Regions from separate parts of the Homo sapiens genome. Here region 1 is linked to region 2. Evidence: promoter capture Hi-C in 16 types of primary human blood cells and fetal thymus (Javierre and others, 2016). All regions are on one chromosome and are shown on one strand. Each heading gives the region's core, a stretch centred on a gene start or on the middle of the fragment in contact. The rest is flanking DNA. Distances are from core to core; before and after follow the strand shown. Region 1 holds the start of ATXN7L3 (ataxin 7 like 3). Region 2 holds the start of CCDC43 (coiled-coil domain containing 43).

Region 1 (3,705 bases), core at 1,199-3,698, 490 kb after region 2:
CAACATGGTGCAACCCTGTCTGTACTAAAAATACAAAACTAAAATTAGCCGAGCGTGGTGGCGTGCGCCAGTAATCCCAGCTATTCAGGAGGCTGAGGCATGAGAATCACTTGAACCCGGGACGCAGAAGTTGCCGTGAGCTGAGATTGCACCTGAGTGACAGAGCAAAATGCTGTCTAAAAAAACAAAACAAAACAAAACAAAAAACCTACTGCTTCTAAATTATTCTCCAGACCATACTCCAGCATGATCCACTAAAAATATAAGTCTGGTGAATGATTCCCCTTGAGGACTCCTCACAGCTTACAGGCTAAAGCCCACAAACTTTTCAACACCTACTTTGCTTTGTCCTGTATTATCCAGCCTGCTCACCTCCTGCTGCTCTGCCACCCACTCCTCTGTTCCAGCTTGATCCATGCTTCTGAAGCTTCCAGTTGGGGATGTCCAATGCCTTCTTGGCCTACCTTCACCTGGTTCATCTCCCTCTATAAGAAGTTTTTCTTTTTCTTCTTTTTTGTTTTGTTTTGAGACGGAGTCTCGCTCAGTTGCCCAGGCTGGAGTGCAGTGGCGCAATCTCAGCTCACTGCAACCTCCGCCTCCCGGGTTCAAGCGATTCTCCTGCCCAAGCCTCCCGAGTAGCTGGATTACTACTATTGCCTAAGCCTCCCGAGTAGCTCCTGGGATTACAGGAGCCCGCCACCACGCCCAGCTAATTTTTGCATTTTTGCAGGCTGGTCTCGAACTCCTGGCCTCCCAAAGTGCTGGGATTACAGGCCTGGGCCACCGCACCCTGCCCAAGAAGCCTTTCTTGACCAACTCTCTTACATCATTTGATGTCTCCTTTTGTCTACCTCTGTTTTCTCTCTGTTGTTTTCCTCACACTGTTTTGCAATTATTATCCTACCTATCTATCCACAAGACAGTGAACTTCTTGAAGAAGCACAACTGTCTTATATCATCTTTTATCCCAGCACCTGGAGCACCGTGAGAATAACAGCTAAGATTTACCAAGCACTTACACAGAGCTAAGAGTTTCACATGCACTGACTTGTTAATCACTACAGCAACGCAAGGAGATAGGACTATCATTATGCCCACTGACAACAGAGGAAACTGAGGCACAGGAAACTCATTTGCTAGGCCCAACGATTTAAATTCAAATCAGACGCCTGATCTGAACTACTCTGGAATATCGCCTCAATAAATGTTTGCTGTTTCTCGGGAGAAATCGGTGAGAAAAAAATAAGTATTTGCTGAAAACTAAAAACCAAAGATGGCTCCAAGTATGTGATTACAGACTATCCTCCTTTTTAATCTTATCTCTTGAGGGGAGAGGGCTGTCACACAACCGTTCCAGGACACCACACACAGAGTAACCGAGATGAAAGCGCCAATCCAGCCATCCACCGCGGCTGGGAAAAGGCCTGTCCCTTCCTAAGGTAAAGAGGGACTGAGAGCGTGAGCACAGGGACACGCTGCACCCAGGGGAACAGCACTGGGTCGGGGGAAGGATCTGGCCAGTGACAAGGAGGCTGTCTGGAGGGGTGGGGGTCCAGCGTGGGTTCCGGAAGCAGGAAAGGCGAGCAGGTGTGGGATCTAAATTAGGACGAGGGGCGGGGAGGGCGCTCCGCGCAGAAGGGCGCAGCTCGGCCTCCGACCTCAGCAGCGGACCCTCATCTCGGCCGCTTGTTGGTCCGCAAGCCTGGAGTGGGCTGAGACCCGCCCAGAAACCGGGAGAACTGAGGCGCGGGCGAGCCCCTTAGGCTCCACAGGCTTTCCGCCCCGAGGTCCTAACTGCGCCCCACTTCAAGTCTGGCCTCTTCACAGAAGTGGCTGCACGCCTCGGGGTAAAGGGGGGAGCGGAGGGTGGCGGGGGAGAGAGCGGGGAGCCCCGAGGGAAGGGCGGGGGAGCCTGGGCCGGAAGGCGTCCCAGGCTCGGCTGGCAGCCGGCGCTCTCTTTCGACGCCACCCGCTGCCCCCGCCCCCGAGCCGGCCGGGACGGCAAAACGTCTCCGCCCCCAGCGCACCGCGCACCTCACCTTGAACGCCGCCCCACCCACCCCCATCTTATTGGTCCTCCCGGGCCGAGGCCTCCCTGCGATTGGTCGGGGAGGTCCGCGAAGGCCCCGCCCATCTCTCCGCCCCCGTCCCCGTCCGCCGGTACTTTGGACGGCGGCGTGGCGCCCCTCCTCCCCTCCCGGTCCCCGCCCCCTGGAGCAAATGCTGCCGAGCTGCGGCCGCGGGGCAGATGCACGCGCTCGGGCCCTTCTAGCAGGCGCGAGCAGTCGCTGGGCGCGCGAAAGCGAAAGAAGGAAGAGGAAGGGAGGGGGAGGGCGGGGTGTTGGGGAGGGGCGGGAGGAGGAAGAGGAGGAGGTTGGAGCGCGCTCGCGCTTGGCCTCGCGCCCGCGCAGAGGGAGGGGGAGAGGGGCGCGCGCGCGCACGCTCGCGTTCACGCTCGCTCCATCCATCCATCCTCCGGTCGCGGCACACGCGCGCGCGCTCCGGGCTCGCGCCGCACCCCCCGCCCGGGAGAGGCGGGCTGGAGTGGGGGGCGGGGGGAGGGGCGCGCGGACGGCGCGCGGACTGCGCGCGGGCGGGGTGAGGTGAGGAGGAGGAGGCGGCGACGGGACAAGAAGGGAGGGGAAGGGGCCATGGCCGCCCGGTGAGGCGGCCAGGCGGGGGGGCGGCCCGACCCCCCGGCCCCGGGCCCTGGGCCCCGGGGAGAGGCGAGGACGGACCGACGGACATGGGGCTCCGGAGCAGCCGCCGCCGTCGCCGCCGCCGGAGGACGCGGCCCTGAGAGGCTGCCGGGCCCCGGCGCGGCCCCCCGGGCGGGGTGAGTACGGGACGGAGACGGGGACGGGGACGGGGGAGGGGCCTGTGGGGGGCGGGGGGCGGGGCCCAAGGCGGGGCTTGGGCCCCCTCCCCCCAGGTCTGGGTCAGCGCCCCTTCCCCTCCCCCCGGGCCGACGCGGAAACGCCCGGCTTCCCCCAGCTTCCCGGCCGGGCCGGGGCCCCTGGCTCTCCCCCGTCTGGGTCCCCCTTGGGCGGGGCAGGGCCGGCCGGGGAGGGGGCGCGGGGCCTTTGTTAGGGAGCCAGGCCCCAGCCCCCGGGACAATAGAGACACCCTCCCGGACTCCTCTCCCCGGCCGGCCGGGGCTGCTGGCGGGCGGGGAAGGAGAGGGGCTGGGACGCGTCCCACTCTCTGGGGGTCGGTCTGTCCCGGCCCGGCGCCGGCCCCGGCGGCTCGGCTGTCCTCCCCCCAGTCGGTATGATGCAGCAGCAGTGCCGCAGGGACGGGGGAAGAGCCGAGGCCCGGCCTCCTACCCTTCCCAGTGCCCCCGGCTCATTCGTCAGTCCCCACCCCACTCTAGGCCGGCAGCTCCTGAAACTCGTACCCACCGTTCCGAGGGGCCCTGGGTTGTGGGTTCTGTGTCTGAATCCTTGGGTGGGGGTTCCTGGACTTTGGGGCTCTTGGAGAGACTTCCGGGCTGGTCCTGAGGGAGGGCGGGTGGTTATTTAAAGGAAGAACAGGTAAGGGGAGTGCCCGCTCCTGGCGTGCCACCCTACCAGGCTCTTCCCCCCCACCCCCCGCCGTTCCTGCTCATGGTGGCTAGAAATGTCCCTTAGCTCTAGGCTCCTGTGGGCTCTGCTCCCCTCGTGGAGTGGCAGGCTGATTTCAAGGGAAGACAGAGTGGGGTGAAGG
Region 2 (3,762 bases), core at 708-3,207:
ATTTGAATCCTGTAGCTCAAGCCATACATGACTCTCTGGAGGCCCCCTAGCAAGCCTTTGAATTCACAGTTCCCCTGCATCTGGATCTACCCCCTTTTTCCCTCCAGTCCCTTTATGTAAAGAACTCCTACCATTCTTCAAGAAAGTTCAAGCATCATCTCCACTGGGAAGCCTTCCTGGATTTCCTATGAACCTCTCCCCACCTGCTTCCAACTCCACTCCAACAGGTAAAGTTAACTCAATCTTCTAGGCATCCTACTGCAATCTCCGCTAGATAAAGCTCCATTAAAACATTTATATCACTATATTGTCATCATTTGTTTAAACATGTCTGTTCCTAATGGATTAAAAACCCCTGAGGACATATATTTTGTGACATTCATTTTTGTGTTTTCAGTGCCAGCAACAATGCCATACTGAAGGTACTCAGTACATATTTGAGGAAGGAGTTAGCCAGGACCTTGCCAGCTTCCTCTGCACTTCAGCTAAAGCCAACCAAATTCTTGGGTAATTCATTCCAGCCCAGAGCCAGGTGTTTTGACGTCAGCTGAAGCTCTCATAACTCTGCCAAAGAAGAGTTCTTGCCACTGGTTAGGCGCCCTCTAGTTGTGTGACTCTCTCCATATCTGTCTCCTTATCTTTAGTGATTTTGTTTGTTCGTTTGTTTGTTTGTTTTTGAGATGGAGTCTCACTGTCGCTCAGGCTGGAGTGCAGCGGCGCGATCTTGGCTCACTGCAACCTCCGCCTTCCGGGTTCCAGCGATTCTGAGTAGCTGGGATTACAGGCCCGCGCCACCACACCTGGCTTTTGTTGTTGTTGTTGTTTGTTTTGAGACGGAATTTCGCTCTTGTTGCCCAGGCTGGAGTGCAATGGCACGATCTCTGCTCACCGCAACCTCCGCCTCCTGGGTTCAAGCGATTCTCCTGCCTCAGCCTCCCACGTAGCTGGGATTACAGGCATGTCCCACCACGCCCGGCTAATTTTGTATTTTTAGTAGAGACGGGGGTTCTCCATTTTGGTCAGGCTAGTCTCGAACTCCAGACCTCAGGTGAGCTGCCCACTTTGGCCTTCCAAAGTGCTGGGATTACGGGAGTGAGCCACCGTGCCCGGCCTTATTTTTGTATTTTTACTAGAGACGGGGTTTCACCATGTCGGCCAGGCTGGTCTCGAACTCCTGACCTCAGGTGATCCACCCGCCTCGGCTTCCCAAACTGTTGGGATTACAGGCGTGAGACATGGCGCCCGGCCTGTCTCCTTATCTTTAAAATGTGGACAATAAAAGCATCTCCCCACAGGGCTGTAGGGAGGATTACAAGAGATAATGCATGAAAAGCTTTTGGCACAGTGCCTAGCAGAGGGTGGGGTACGCTTCTCAAAGAATAGTCCCGTGCACGCGTTGAATCAATGAGTGGAAGAAATAACTTGAGGTTGCCTGTTTATTTACTGAGTGCCTACCATGGAATCAGGGAAGGTTTTCTGCAACCTTTACTTTGACAGGGAAGGGCTTGTACAGGTGAAGGTGGTAGCCGTCGGTAGCGACGACGAGGGTATTCCAGGCTGTCAGGAGGTTCTTGCCAGACAGCTGTGTGGGAGTGGGCGGCCAGCATCCCCCGAAAGCGCGGGGAAGGCAGCTCGGTCGGGTGGAGGAAGCGATGGCATCCACGCTGAGCTCCAGTCCTGGGTAGTTATTAGCCGCGTGACTTTGGCCAAATTACTGCACCTCTCTCAACTTCCCGAACTGTAGAATGAGTCTGTTAAGAATACTCACATGCCAAGCATCTTGTGAGATCACGCGACCGCACGTATGCGAAGACGCGCTTCATCTAGAAAGCACAAAACTCTCAAGCCGGCCGACACGGCTGCGCTCTTTGCACTTACGGGCCTGGGCTTCCTCTTCAGGCATGCGCGGTGGACCTGCGGCGCGGCCCGTCAGGCACTGCGGTAGGCGCCCTAGGGGCTTGCAGGACCCTGACCCCAAGATGGCGGCGCCCAGCGAAGTGGCCGCGATAGCCCCTGGCGAAGGCGATGGCGGAGGCGGCGGCTTTGGCTCCTGGCTGGACGGACGGTTGGAGGCACTGGGAGTGGACCGAGCCGTTTATGGAGCCTACATCTTGGGTATCCTGCAGGAGGAGGAGGAAGAAGAGAAGCTGGACGCTCTGCAGGGGATCCTCTCTGCTTTCCTGGTGAGTAGCCTGGACACATTCCTTCAGCCTCTGGCCAGCATCTGAGGACCTGTCAGTACTTTGCACCCTCCCTCCCCTACCGGGTATCCCAGAGGCTCAGTGGTCTCACCTGGGAGAGGTATACTCCTCTGATATCTGGGCGGCGGGGGAAGGAGGTTGCTCCCCAACCAGGTGTGGGAAGCCTGAAAGCTGCAGGTACACAGAGAGGAAGGGCTTTCTCGTATTCTTGGGGACAAGGCCCTCTCCGATGCTTGTGAGTGAGCCGAGGAGGGTTCTTCCGAAGGCATTGAAATGTCAGAATGGGAATGTTATCATAAATATCTGACGACCAATTCCATTTCCATCCGTTTACAGTGTTCACTGGGGGTATTAAAATGCTCTTGGGAGGTCTGTGCCTATTACAAGGCAGTTCCCAGGGCTGTCCCATGACAGAAGCCTGCAGGAAGTGCCCTTTTGATTCTTATATGGATGTAGGAGTCCATAAAAGGTAAGCTGGTGGTAGAAGTCTTTTCATGCCCACGCAGAACTGAAGCAAACGTCGTGCTTGATCCATTACAGTATTTACAGTAATCATTGGTGGTGGGAAGGAGGGTATGAGAGAGATCAGAGCTTTAACGAAGAGAGAGAAACTTAGTCCTTAGCCTGTTAGAAGCAAGGTATTCAGAAATGTGTACTTTAAGCTATGTTTACATAGTAAGTCACCCAGATGTCCACTTTTTCAACCTGATCATTTCTGCTGCCTTCATCTTCACTTCCCACACCTCCAACATACACACTTATTAGACTGGTTATTACAGATTAAATTGGTTGTAGGTGCTACCTGTGGCTGTCTAACAAATTGTTTCCTTTTAAATACAAGCTTAAAAATAAAATTTACTTGAATCATCACTAAATGCTGTAGAAGCTAGAGTTGTCTCTGCATTCATGGATTAGAGGAGATCCTGGATACCTGATTGCTACTGTGAGAGCCACCTGTCTGTCCATCAAAGGCTTTATCCTCTGGCATTTATTACAATGGACAGGTTAGAAAAATGGGTTCTTTGTTATTCTCAAAACCAATTTTGAAAGGCTAGTAATAGAATCAAAATGTACCATGAGGTGGGGCACAGTGGCTCATGTTTGTAATCTCACCACTTTGGGAGGCTGAGGTGGGAGGATTGCTTGAGGCCAAGAGTTCCACACCACACTGGGCAACATAGCAAGACCCTGTCTCTACAAAAAAATTTAAAAAATTAGCCAGGTATGGTGGCGCATACCTGTAGTCCCAGCTACTCAGAAGTCTGAAGTGGGAGGATCACTTGAGCCTAGGAGGCTGTGGCTGCAGTGAGCCGTGATTGTGCCACTGCACTCCAGCTTGGGTGACAGAGTGACCCTGTCTCAAAGAAAAAAAAATTAGTATAAATATATATAGATATAAATGTACATATTCATATCTCATTTTTTTAAAAGGGTAGAAGGCAGAAACATTTTCAAATCCAAAAGTGTTTTGTGAAAGCGGAAACAAGTGCTAGGAAAAAATCACTCACATTTGGTGGAAGCAGTTCATAGATTGGGTACATGGTTGAAATATAACACTAGT

Evidence for each region. The method cuts DNA at HindIII sites, captures the fragments that hold promoters and counts their contacts. A CHiCAGO score of 5 or more calls a contact.
Region 1: the fragment with the promoter of ATXN7L3 here is called in contact with the fragment with the promoter of CCDC43 in region 2 in 2 of 17 cell types (M2 macrophages and M0 macrophages); the score reaches 5.9 in M2 macrophages.

Annotation. Positions count from the first base shown.
Region 1 is chr17:44,198,627-44,202,331 of GRCh38, reverse strand. ATXN7L3 (ataxin 7 like 3) reads left to right here and starts at 2,448. Exons shown (of 13, transcript NM_001382309.1): 1 at 2,448-2,836. It overlaps ATXN7L3-AS1 (ATXN7L3 antisense RNA 1), which reads right to left and starts at 3,492. Exons shown (of 2, transcript NR_184071.1): 1 at 3,402-3,492. RefSeq lists enhancers at 1,069-1,606, 1,607-2,145, 2,871-3,426, 3,631-3,705 and silencers at 1,800-2,599, 2,700-3,309. The HindIII fragment of the contact is 7,751 bases long and covers 430-3,705 here.
Region 2 is chr17:44,687,971-44,691,732 of GRCh38, reverse strand. CCDC43 (coiled-coil domain containing 43) reads left to right here and starts at 1,957. Exons shown (of 5, transcript NM_144609.3): 1 at 1,957-2,183. The coding sequence starts at 1,980. It overlaps LOC105371792 (a long non-coding RNA gene), which reads right to left. Exons shown (of 4, transcript XR_007065769.1): 2 at 3,710-3,762; 3 at 3,440-3,555; 4 at 2,720-2,792. It overlaps LOC124904010 (a long non-coding RNA gene), which reads right to left and starts at 1,952. Exons shown (of 2, transcript XR_007065770.1): 1 at 1,879-1,952; 2 at 1,423-1,738. RefSeq lists enhancers at 1,827-1,966, 1,635-2,224. The HindIII fragment of the contact is 1,709 bases long and covers 1,336-3,044 here.